Linked DNA regions of Homo sapiens: region 2 is linked to region 1. The links are contacts of gene promoters, found by promoter capture Hi-C in human tissues and cell types (Jung and others, 2019). All regions are on one chromosome and are shown on one strand. Each heading gives the region's core, a stretch centred on a gene start or on the middle of the fragment in contact. The rest is flanking DNA. Distances are from core to core; before and after follow the strand shown. Region 1 holds the start of AP1M1 (adaptor related protein complex 1 subunit mu 1). Region 2 overlaps TPM4 (tropomyosin 4).

What was found. Contacts are between HindIII fragments. The study calls those that stand out against the background at their distance.
Region 2: a fragment that was not itself captured here is called in contact with the fragment with the promoter of AP1M1 in region 1 in 3 of the 25 tissues and cell types used here (H1 embryonic stem cells, dorsolateral prefrontal cortex and spleen).

The regions. Positions count from the first base shown.
Region 1 is chr19:16,195,733-16,201,582 of GRCh38, forward strand. AP1M1 (adaptor related protein complex 1 subunit mu 1) reads left to right here and starts at 2,179. Exons shown (of 12, transcript NM_032493.4): 1 at 2,179-2,336. The coding sequence starts at 2,295. RefSeq lists a silencer at 2,323-2,562. The HindIII fragment of the contact is 7,648 bases long and covers 1-5,850 here.
Region 2 is chr19:16,092,302-16,098,272 of GRCh38, forward strand. It overlaps TPM4 (tropomyosin 4), which reads left to right. Exons shown (of 8, transcript NM_003290.3): 6 at 1,235-1,297; 7 at 1,383-1,452. Among named protein-coding and RNA genes, the nearest start is that of RAB8A, 17 kb to the right of the region's middle. RefSeq lists an enhancer at 1,678-2,551 and a silencer at 4,886-5,083. The HindIII fragment of the contact is 3,724 bases long and covers 2,540-5,971 here.

The DNA.
Region 1 (5,850 bases), core at 929-3,428:
TAGCCAACATGGTGAAACCCCGTCTCTACTAAAAATACAAAAATTAGCTGGGCATGGTGGCAGGCACCTATAGTTCCAGCTACTTGGGAGGCTGAGGCAGGAGAATCACTTGAACCTGGAAGGCAGAGGTTGCAGTGAGCCGAGATCGTGTCACTGCATGCCAGCCTGGTGACAGAGTGAGACTCTGTCTCAAAAAAAAAATTAAAAAAAAGAAAAATCCCAATAACCAAACCCTGGCCCAGACCAATTAAAACAAAATCTCTATACATGGCTTTCAGGCCTCAGTGGTTCTTATTGTGTGTGTTGTATTGGGGGGGCTTTTGAGACCCCCACTCCTAACCTATTCCCAGACCAAACTGAGGGTTGGGCTTCTATATCTCACAGCCCAATAATGAGACACAGATGAACTAGGGAGGAAGAGAGTTTTTATTTCTGTAACTGGTTACAGGGAGAAGGCCTGGAAAATATCACCAGACCAACCCAAAATTACAAAGTCTTCCAGAGCTCATATACCTTCTAAGCTATATGTCTACGTGTAGGTGTGCATTCATCTAAAGACGTAAGTAAGTTATAGTCTTTTAACCCATAACTAAGATCTGAGTCCTGAAGACCTTCCTCTGGAGCCTCAGTAAATTTACTTAATCTAAGTGGGTCCAGGTGCTGGGGTGATTACCCTTATCTTATCTCCTGCTAAATCATGGAGGTTTGGGGGAGTTCCTTCAAACCCCAATAAACTTGTTTGTGGAGGCCTGAGGAGTTTCTTCAGACCGCCAATAAAGCTTGTTTAATCCTAAAAGGGTCCTGTTAAGAATTCCTTCATTATCTTGTCATGCTTCAAGGCCCAGGAAAGGCCTAGGCACAACTCTGGGTGGGCTTTTGTTACATCCCAGCCTTTGTATAAGGGCACTGGCTCTCTTATCTTTTAATATTTAACTTAACCCTTGTAATCCCAGCACTTTGGGAGGCCGAGGTGGGTGGATCACGTGAGGTCAGGAGTTTGAGACAAGCCTGGCCAACATGGTGAAACCACGTCTCTACTAAAAATACAAAAATTAGCTAGGTGTGGTGGCACATGCCTGTAATCCCAGCCACTTGAGAGGCTGACACACAAGAGAATCACTTGAACCCAGGAGGCAGAGGTTGCAGTGAGCCGAGATCATGCCATTGCACTCCAGCCTGGGTGACAGAGTGAGACTCCATCTCAAAAAAAAAAAAAAAAAAAAAAGCAAACAACAAAAACCCTCTCTTGGCTGCTTGCTCTGTGCCTTGAGCAAGAATCCTTCCAGCCCAGGAGTCACTTAGCAGTCTTCAAACATTCTAGTTTGCTTCTCTAGAGTTTCGGTCACATTTCTTTCCTAAGCAAAACACTATATAATTACCGAGTTGCAAAAATCATCTTTCCAAACGCCAAAACGGAGATAAGACAGAAAATAAAAGATGTGAGAGGCAGGCATCCTGGGTAAATCACTCTGGTATTGCAGGGTTGGGATCCCCAGGGTACTATGATGGCTAACTGGAACAGAATGCAGGCATTTCTCCAAAGCCCAAGAGTTCATAAAAGCAAATTAAATATGACTCAATGGATTAATCAAGGGCCACCAGTTGCATTACTGATTACTAACTTTGCAGAAATGAAACACGGTATGTTGGGTCAAGGTTCAGTGAGGCTGGTTTTCATAACATTCCAGGCAATAAACAGGCACACTCATTCATTGATAAATGTTGACAATGACAGGTGGTGACTGTTGATAAGGTTTGATTGCCATTCAGAAAGTTTGTTTGACCTCTTTCCAAGTAACCACGACCTTACCTCTCTCTTTTGAGCTTATCACAATTGGTGACTGTACACTTGTTTCATAGACTTCCCCACCAGACTGTGAGCTCCATAGGGCTGGGCCCCAGGTCGGTTTCACCACCAGGCTCTCTCGCCTAACTCGGCCCACGGGAGGCCGTTTCCAGCTGCTCTGGCTCCATAGCTCAGCCTGGCAGCGGCCACTGGGTGCCCTGATTTGGTCGGCCCCGCCCCACCGGGCCTTACTTCCGGGATGCTTCTGGCGGGAGCAAGAAACATGGTTACATACGACGTAATGCGCCTGCGCACAGTCCGTCCTGCGCCTGCGCATTCCTGACAGCACCTCCCGGACCGGACATAACGGTCCCCGCGCGGCTCCCCGAACCGGAAGTGGAGGTGAGCTGTCGCGGGCGGCGCCCGGCCTTGCTCAACGCCCAGCAGTCCCCACCGTCGCTGCCGCCGCCACCGCCCTCGGCCGCTGCCGAGGCCTCCTGCAGCCATCATGTCCGCCAGCGCCGTCTACGTGCTGGACCTGAAGGGCAAGGTACTGAGGGCTCCCCACCCTCCCTGTTGCCAGGCAACCGGCAGGGGCCTCCGCCCGCGGGGACCCACCCTGTTGCTAGGTAACCGGCTTATGAGCCCCATCCTGGTGTGAGGCAGAGAGGCCGGTAGACCTCACCTGAGAGCCCCATCCTGTTTCTGGGTAACCGGGCGGGGGTCTTAAGTGGGTAATCCCCGCCCTGTTGCTACGTAACGCGGTGGGCTGCAGCCACCGCGTTGCCAGGTAACTGACTGCACCGCCCTCTGCTCCCCGGCGCCGGGGCCGGGGGCTCGGGCCTCGGTGGAGGACCCAGAAGCGGGGCCGCAGCCGGCCTCGGAGCCAGGCAGGGCGTCCAGGGGCTGCGCGACCCTTGGCCGGGGGTGGCGAGGCGTGGCGGGGACTGGGTGCTCTCGAGCCAGTCCCGCCTTCTCAGGGCGTTACAGCTTCTGTTTATCGTGCACTTTCTCTCAGTAGGAATTTCTCCACGTTCATTGTGATAGTGAGTTACAAGGATTAGGTGAGGTGAGTGGTGATCACGAGTGCCGTTTTATAGAGGGAGAAACTGAGGCATGGAGAGGTGAAGCAACCTGACCAAGGTCACAATGGTCACAGAGAAGTAGCAAGTCTAGGAGTCCGATCCAGAATCATTCGTTTATTCAGCTGATATCTGGGGAGCACCTACTAATGCCGGGCAGGGTACTAAGCCTGGGGTCGATTTGTGTTTAGCAAAAAACAGTCCCTTTTTTTTTGTTTTGTTTTTGAGATAGTGTCATGCTCAGTCGTCCAGTCTGGAGTGTAGTGGTGCAATCTCCACTCACTGCAACCTCCGCCTCCCGGGTTCAAGCAATTTTCCTGCCTCAGCCTCCCAAGTAGCTGGGATTACAGGCACCTGCCACTACGCCGAGCTAAATTTTGTATTTTTAGTAGAGGCAGGGTTTCACCATGTTGACCAGGCTGGTCTCGAACTCTTGACCTCGAGTGATCCACCTGTCTTAGCCTCCCAAAGTGCTGGGATTACAGGTGTGAGTCATGTGCCAGGGCTCAACAATCTGTGTTCTTACGGTGTTCACAGGCTGGTAGGGGAGATGGATACCCATCTCCAAAAACACAAATAAATGTCAATTGCAGTGGTGTTGAGGGGCGAGTGTGTTATACAGACAGTCAGCCTCAGCCCGAGGATGAGAGAGGGTTTCCCTGAGGAGGGGTGACAAATGGACCAGAGACACCAGGGAGCTGGACATAAACTAGAACCCAGGCATCTTCCCCAGAGGATCTGAGAAAACTTTAAGAAGGGATTGTCCCCACCTTTTAGAAATGGTCCTCTGCCTTCTCCTAAGTCCATCCCAGGTGCAAGGCAGGTGGCTGCCTGGCCTGTTGCATGTGGAAGCAACAAGAACCGGTCCAACAATGTGAAGCCCAACATTGATCAGTGAGAGAAACAAACATGGGTGTCAGGTCCTAGGTGAGGCGGGCAGGGGTGAGCCCTAAAGCAGCTGAGAGTGAAGAGGTGAAATGGCTGCCCCTTCCCGCCCCACCCCACCCCCAGCACTTTCCTGAAGTCCCTTGAGTGGGTGCCTGCTCTGGAAGCCACCCAAAGTCAACAACTGGTGAGACCCAGTGCTGGGCTTCCCTCCCCCGCCTTCTTGGAAGGAGGGAAGACACCCGTCTTAGAGCACGCCAGGGGCTGGGTGGTGCGGTGGAATGAGTCCTGGTGGAATGAGTCTTGCTTCCACCCTGGCCACTGCCTCCCCAGAGGTGCCAGTGGGCTGCCTGTCTTGGCTTGCTTATTCCTTCAGCAAACATTTCATGAGCACCTAGCATGCACCCTGCCCTATGCCGGGCATAGGGTGTCCATTGGCGCCATGGCTGTGGTGTTAGGGGTGAGCTCAAAACCCATCCCTGCTGCTCAGCTGTGTGACCTGGGACAGGCACCTTCTCCTGTCTGAGCCTCACTTTCCTCACTGGTCAAAAGAGGCTTTTATGGAGTTATTGTGCAGATTTGCTGAGCAGATGCATGAGACAGGCTCAGCACCACCCATGGTCCATGTTAGCTCTCCCAGGCCTCTCGGTCTAGCAGGGGAGTCACCTAGAAGCAGAGACATTACCACACAGTTGGATCCAGGCAGCCACAGGGGCAGGAACAAGGTCCCAAGTCCTGCAGTTGCTCAACCTCATCTTTAGCCAGTGGAAGGGGGAGGTGGTTATGAAAGGCTCCCTGAAGAGGGCGACGCTGGAAGTAGGTTTGGAAGGCACGATCATGTGGAAAAGAGGTGTTGCAAGGGGCAGCCTGCTGGGGCTGCCAAGCCAGAAGTCCTGGCTAATGCTGAGATGGGAGAGAGGGACCAAGGGGACCACTTCAGTTCCAACCAGGAGCCACCGTGAGGAGACCGTAGCCCAGAGAGGCATGATCAGACCTGCCTTTCAGAAAGCTCCCCAAGGCAGCCGTGGGCTTCCTTCCCTTCCTCTGCAACCATGATGCCCTTTCTTATTCCACGACCCACGGACCTCCTGTTTCCAAAGTCAGCCTCGTGAGCCGACTGCATTTAATCAACAATAAAGCACACTGAGAAATTCATGGCCACGTGTCTGGTCACCGAGGACACCAGCGTGGCCACACTGGGCTGGGAGGAAGCTGTCCTAGTAGGAAGCTTCTCCGCTTTATCTAACTGGCTTCTCAGCAGCTTCTGACACCACTAACCACCTCCTCTTCAGTGCTCCCTTCCGCTTCCAGGAGGCTGCGCTCTGGGGGGTTTCCTCCTGTTTCTTGCACTGCCTACTTTCCTCCTTTTCTGCCCTCCCCAGGGCTGTGGAGCGGCTCAGGCCTACGCGTGCCTCCCCATGCTGTCACTCTTCCCAGGTGGGCTTTGACTCATGTCCATGGGCCAGTGACTCTCAATTTTGTTCACAGCATTTCTCTGGAGATCTAGTGGCCTCTGAGACACCAGAGAGGTCCCGCCGCCACCATAAATTCAGCATTCTTCTAAATGCACTCCCTGTACCTGCTCTCTTTCCATTTCAGTGATGCCATCACCCATTCAGCCATCTGCACAAGAGACCTGGACGTTATCCTCGCCTCCTTTGTCTCCTCACCCCTGTTTTCACTCCACAAATGTTTACTGAGCACCTACTATGGTCCAGGCCCCTTTCTGGGTGCTGGAAAACAGCTGTGAATGAGACAGGAGTAGTTGCTGTTCTCAGGGGATGTCAGACAGTAAAGGAGGATAGAAATAAATGTTTAATGCACCAGGTGATAGGGATAAAGCAGGGGTCAGGGTTCAGAGGGATGGGACATGATCTCAGCCAGAGCAAGCAGGGAGGATTTCTTTTTTTTTTTTTTTTTTTTTTTTTTTTGAGATGGAGTTACGTTCTGTCAGCCAAGCTGGAGTGCAATGGCACAATCTCGGCTCACTGCAACCTCTGCCTCCCAGGTTCAAGTGATTCTCCTGCCTCAGCCTCCCAAGTAGCTGGGACTACAGGCATGCACCACCACGCCTGGCTAATTTTGTATTTTTAGTAG
Region 2 (5,971 bases), core at 3,152-5,651, 100 kb before region 1:
AGGGAGTGCCTGTCACCCTGGGGAAGGTGGTGGAGAATGGGGTTGGAAATACAGAGGGGGCCTTGAGTAACAGATTCCCAGTTATCTCCCTTTCTTCGCCATACTTTTTATCTCAAGTTCTCAGTTTAGGCCTTCTGATCAATACCATCCTACAGGACTCTCCCCAACATCCTCCACATTTCACACATATTTCTTCTGCTGGGGAAAGGTGCCTGCCTCTACTCTGCCTACTTTTTTTTTTTTTTCTTTTTGAGATGGAGTCTCACTCCATCGCCCCAGGCTGGAGTGCGGTGGCGCCATCTGGCCTCACTACAGCCTCCACCTCCTGGGTTTAAGCAATTCTCATGCCTTAGCCTCCTGAGTAGCTGAGATTACAGGCACCCACCACCACACCTGGCTAATTTTTGTATTTTTAGTAAAGACAGCGTTTCGCCATGTTGGCCAGGCTGGTCTCGAACTCCTGACCTCAAGCGATCCACCCGCCTTGGCCTCCCAGAGTACTGGGATTACAGGCGTGAGCCACCGTGCCTGGCCTGCTTACTTCTTTTTATGCTTCTTCCTCCTTTTTTTTGAGATGGGGTCCTGCCCTGTTGCCCAGGCTAGAGTGTAGTGGTCCAATCAGAGCTCTCTGCAGCCTTGAATTCCAGGGTTCAAGCCATCTTCCCTCCTCAGCGTCCCCATTAGCTGGGACTACAGGTGCTCACCACCATGACTGGCTAATTTTTAAATTCTTTGTAGAGACGGGGTCTCACTATGTGACCCAGGTTGGTCTCAAATTCCTGGGCTCAAGTAATTCTCCCACCATGGTCCCCCAAAACACTGGAATCACAGGTGAGAGCCACCACACCCAGCCCTCCTTTTCTTTCTTTCTGTTTTTTTTTTGTTTTTGTTGTTGTTGTTGTTTGTTTTTTTGAGATGGAGTCTTACTCTGTCACCCAGGCTGGAGTGCAGTGGCGTGATCTCGGCTCACTGCAACCTCCACCTCCCAGGTTCGAGTGAGTCTTCTGCCTCATCCTCCCCAGTAGCTGGGACTACAGCTGCATGCCACCAAGCCTGGCTAATTTTTGTATTTTTAGTAGAGACGGGGTTTCACCATGTTGGCCAGGCTGGTCTCGAACTCCTGACCTTGTGATCCACCAGCCTCAGGCTCCCAAAGTGCCAGGATTCCAGGCATGAGCCACCATGCCTGGCTGGGCCTCCTTTTCTTAAAGCAGTGTTTTGGTTTCTCCCACAGTATTCTGAAAAGGAGGACAAATATGAAGAAGAAATTAAACTTCTGTCTGACAAACTGAAAGAGGTGAGTGTGGTGGCACCCAGCGAGCTCTGGTTTCTCCTGGGGCTGGTCTTGAAGCCATGATAGTAACTCCTTTCTTCTTATCTAGGCTGAGACCCGTGCTGAATTTGCAGAGAGAACGGTTGCAAAACTGGAAAAGACAATTGATGACCTGGAAGGTATGAGGTTACCATCTAAATGTTTGCCTTGCCCTGCCTTCCCCTCTGGGACACATCCACGGACAGTTGGGGAATGTTTGTGGAGGGGCTGGGTTGGGCTTTGTTTGCCTTAGGAAAGTAAAGCGCATAGTGATGTCATATCTGGATGTCCTGGAACACTGGAATAGGATAATGCAAAGCATTCAGGCTTGAATGGCCCTTTTTTTTTTTTTTTTTTTTTTCTATGAGACGGAGTCTGGCTCTGTCTCCCAGGCTGGATGGAGTGCAGTGGCGCCATCTCGGCTCACTGCAACCTGCGCCTCCCGGGTTCAAGTGATTCTCCTGCCTCAGCCTCCCAGGTAGCTGGGACTACAGGCGTGTGCCGCCACACCTGGCTAATTGAATTGCCACTTTCAGGAGGTAAAATATCTCTGCTTAGTTAGTCCCATGAGCAAGTATAGAGAAAAGAGTATGGCTCTCTCTGATTAAAAAAATATTAATAATAAATTAAAAATCTCAGGCCAGGCGCAGTGGCTCAAGCCTGTAATCCTAGCACTTTGGGAGGCCGAGGCGGGCGGATCACTTGAAATCAGGAGTTTGAGACTAACCTGGCCAACATGGTGAAACCCCGTCTCTACCAAAAATAGAAAAAATTAGCCAGGCGTGGTGGTGCACGCCTGTAATCCTAGCTACTGGGGAGGCTGAGGCAGGGAGAATCCCTTGAACCTGGGAGGCGGAGGTTGCAGTAAGCCAAGATCACGCCACAGCTCTCCAGCCTGGGTGACAGAGCCAGACTCCGTCTCAAAAAAAAAAAAACTTCACAATTTCCTTCTGTTTGCTCATTTCTGATAGATGCCTTGCATTTTTTTTTTACATGCCTTGCATTTTTGCAGAAGCTCTGTCCCAGGGAGCTCAAAGCTTATCATAGTATTTAAAAAAAAAAACAGAAATACAGAAAGTGTAGGGACTGCAATAAAGACTAGTCTGCAAGTCTGGGGCCCACTTCTCCCAGAATTTTTTCAAGAGTTCCAGTGTTTAACATTCGGCCTCAGAAATTCCAGAATCTTGGGGTTCAAATGGAATCTTCCAAACTGCCCATCCCACCCAGAAAGGACACATTCTTCAGACCATATCTTCCAATGTTTTTTTGGGGAAGTGAGGTTCCCATATAAGGGAAAATGCCCCATTCCAAAATACGACCTTTGGACAGGGTGACGTCATTGGAAATCCGAAATAAACTGAGGGGTGGGGACCAGTGGGGGGAAGCTCTGTCACTTCTGGTTACCACTGTTTTGAAGCTTCATTGTGGCTAATCCCCCTGCAGAACCTCAAACCACTTAGAGATCAACTCCATAGATCTTTGGTTTTCTTCATCTGTTTCACATGGAACACAGCTTTCTCCTAGTCTGTGCTTTGTTTGCTCACGTGTTTTTTTCTTCCTCTTGTGGTTCATCTGTGGCACTCCATTCCGACCCTTGCCTTCTGTCCCCTGTACTTCTGAACTGTCTCCCTGGGGACCTCCGCCCTCTAGATGAGTTATACGCTCAGAAGCTCAAGTACAAAGCTATCAGCGAGGAACTGGACCACGCTCTCAACGACATGACCTCTCTCTGAGAGGCAGCCAGGTCGCTGCCCTCTGTCCTTCTCACATGGTGCCTCCTACGCCCCTGTGGGCTTCTAGGAGCTCCGGTGGCCTGCCTTCTGGTTTGAACGTCAGAGCCTTCTTCTGATGTGTCTGTGACTCTACAACCGAAATAAAGACGGGCAGTCCTCCTCTTCATGCCCCCTCATTCTCATTTTCTCCACTTGCTGCCTTTGAGCTGTAGCTGTGTGCCCTTAACCATAGCCTGAAACACAAAGTGGGTGGTTAGCCTCTCTCACTCACAAATGAAAAGCTTATTACAAAAAGAAAATTATGCCTACAGGATGCTTTTCTGAAGACGTGAAAACAAAAGCAAACTGGGCATGTGCTCTCAGATACCGCTGTTAGCTAACGGCATCTGCATGCCAATAATTTTTTTTTGTTTTTTTGTTTTGAGACAGGGTCTTGCTTTGTCACCCAGGCTGGAGTGCAGTGACACCATCATAGTTCACTGCAACCTCCACCTACAAGGCTCAAGCTATCCTCCCACCTCGACCTCCCAAGTAGCTGGAACTACAGGTGTGCACCACCACACAAGGCTAATTTTTGTACTTTTTTTTTTTTTTTTTGAGGCGGAGTCTCACTATGTCGCCCAGGCTGGAGTGCAGTGGTGCAATCTCGGCTCACTGCAACCTCCGCCTCCCGGGTTCAAGCAATTCTCCTGCCTCAGCCTCCCAAGTAGCTGAGATTACAGGCATACACCACCACACCTGGCTAATTTTTCTTTTGGATTTTTAGTAGAGACAGGGTTTCACCATGTTGGTCAGGCTGGTCTCAAACTCCTGACCTTGTGATCCGCCTGCCTTGGCCTCCCAAAGTGCAGGGATTACAGGCTTGAGCCATCACGCCTGGCCATTTTTGTACTTTTTGTAGAAGCGGGAGGGTTTCACTATGTTGCCCAGGCTGGTCTTGAACTGCTGGGCTCAGGCAGTCTGCCCACCTCACCCTCCCAGGGTGCTGCAATTACAGGCATGAGCCACCGCGCCCATCCCCAATGGTTTTTCCTTAAATAGAAATTGTTGTGAATGGAGGCTCATCCTTGTAAACCGCTTAGGCAGCTTAAGAGTCAACAGGGATTTGGAAAAACCAGCAAGCCTGTGTCAAAAATGAGGCTCCCCTTGAATGGGGCTTGAGCTACAGATTCAAACAGCGGCAGTGACATTTTGATCTCCATTTCCTCCTTTTCTTGTGTCTTTTCTCTGTGTTACACTGTGAGTGTGGTGACTGGGGCTTCCCGTGGCTTTACTCTTCACTGTTCATCCAGCTCCCAGTCCTGGGAGGAAGTTCACCTCCACGCCCTGCCCTTAGAAAACTGACTGTACAAGGAGTGAACGGGCCTCCATGAACAGGGAAAGTGCTGTGACGTCAGAAGACGTGAATTTAGAATTCTTTTCCCGAATTCCAGAATTGCCTGAGACTGCTAACATCAATCTCCATTCATATTTCAGTTAGTTATAACAGGAACCTTGCTTTAGTTTAGAATAGCTCTTAAGGTTGACCTGTGGGTAATAAAAGGTCATGCTTTTTCCTACATGAGGAATATGGAGAAAACAAGGTCACTCTTTTTTTTTTTTTTTTTTTTTTTTTTTTTTTTTTCAAGACAGGGTCTCACTCTGTTGCCCGGGCTGGAGTGCAGTGGCGCCATCTTGGCTCACTGCAACCTCCGCCTCCTGGGTTCAAGTGATTCTCATGCCTCAGCCTCCCGAGTAGCTGGGATTACAGTCGCGGACCACCACACTCAGCTAATTTTTGTACTTTCAGTAGAGATGGGGTTTCACCATGTTAGCTAGGCTGGTCTGAAACTCCTGGCCTCAACTGATCCGCCCACCTCAGCTTCCAAAAATGCTGGGATTACAGGCGTGAGCCACTTTGCCCGGCCCAGGCTATGCTTTGCTTTTTTTTTTCTTCTTTCTTTTTGAGACGGAGTTTCGCTCTTGTTGCCCACGCTGGAGTGCAGTGGCGCCATCTCTGCTCACTGCAACCTCTGCCTCACGGGTTCAAGCAATTCTCCTGCCTCAGCCTCCCAAGTAGCTGGGACTACAGGCATGCGCCACCATGCCTGGCTAATTTTGTATTTTTAGTAGAGACAGGGTTTCACCATGTTGGCCAGGCTGGTTTTGAACCCCTGACCTCAGGTGATCCACCCGCCTCGGCCTCCCAAAGTGCTGGGATTACAGGTGTGAGCCACTGCACCTGGCCCAAGCTATGCTTTTCTAATGATCAAAAACATACCAATTTGTCCCAAAATTTCAAATAGTGCATCTGGTTCTCCCCTGCATCCTACCACCACTACCACCTCAAATTATCACAGATAATTGACATTTAGATGTTCAAGCCACATCTTCCAGACTACCCCTTGAACCTGGAAATGGCATGAAAATCTCCAACTAGATCCTGAATTTTCGGTATCCATTGTTATTCCTCATCCTATTTTTTTGTCCAGGTGGGAAGCTCTGTCCCCATTACTCTCTCTATTCATCCATTCCTCCAAAATGCACCTCCCCTAAACCACCTCCACCTTTCCACCCTCAGCCTCTCCCTGCTCCTAACTGCCGTCCATCCTGAACTTCTGCAAAAACCATTCCCCTCACACATTGCCATATATATGCCCTTGGAAAGATTACAGACTGTGTAGGGGGCTGGTTTTTGTTTGGAGTCTGTGTGTTTGTCCCTGGAATTTCTCCAGGCATTTCTGGACTCCACCCTTTGAAGTAACTATGCAGCCTGTCTATCCAGTTATTCTACCTAACTAAGCACATAAGTGGAATTTCAGAGATTAGTGCTATGGCCGGGCACGGTGGCTCACGCCTGTAATCCCAACACTTTGGGAGGCCAAGGCAGGCAGGTCACTTGAGGTCAGAAGTTCAGGACCAACCTGGTCAACATGGTGAAACTCTG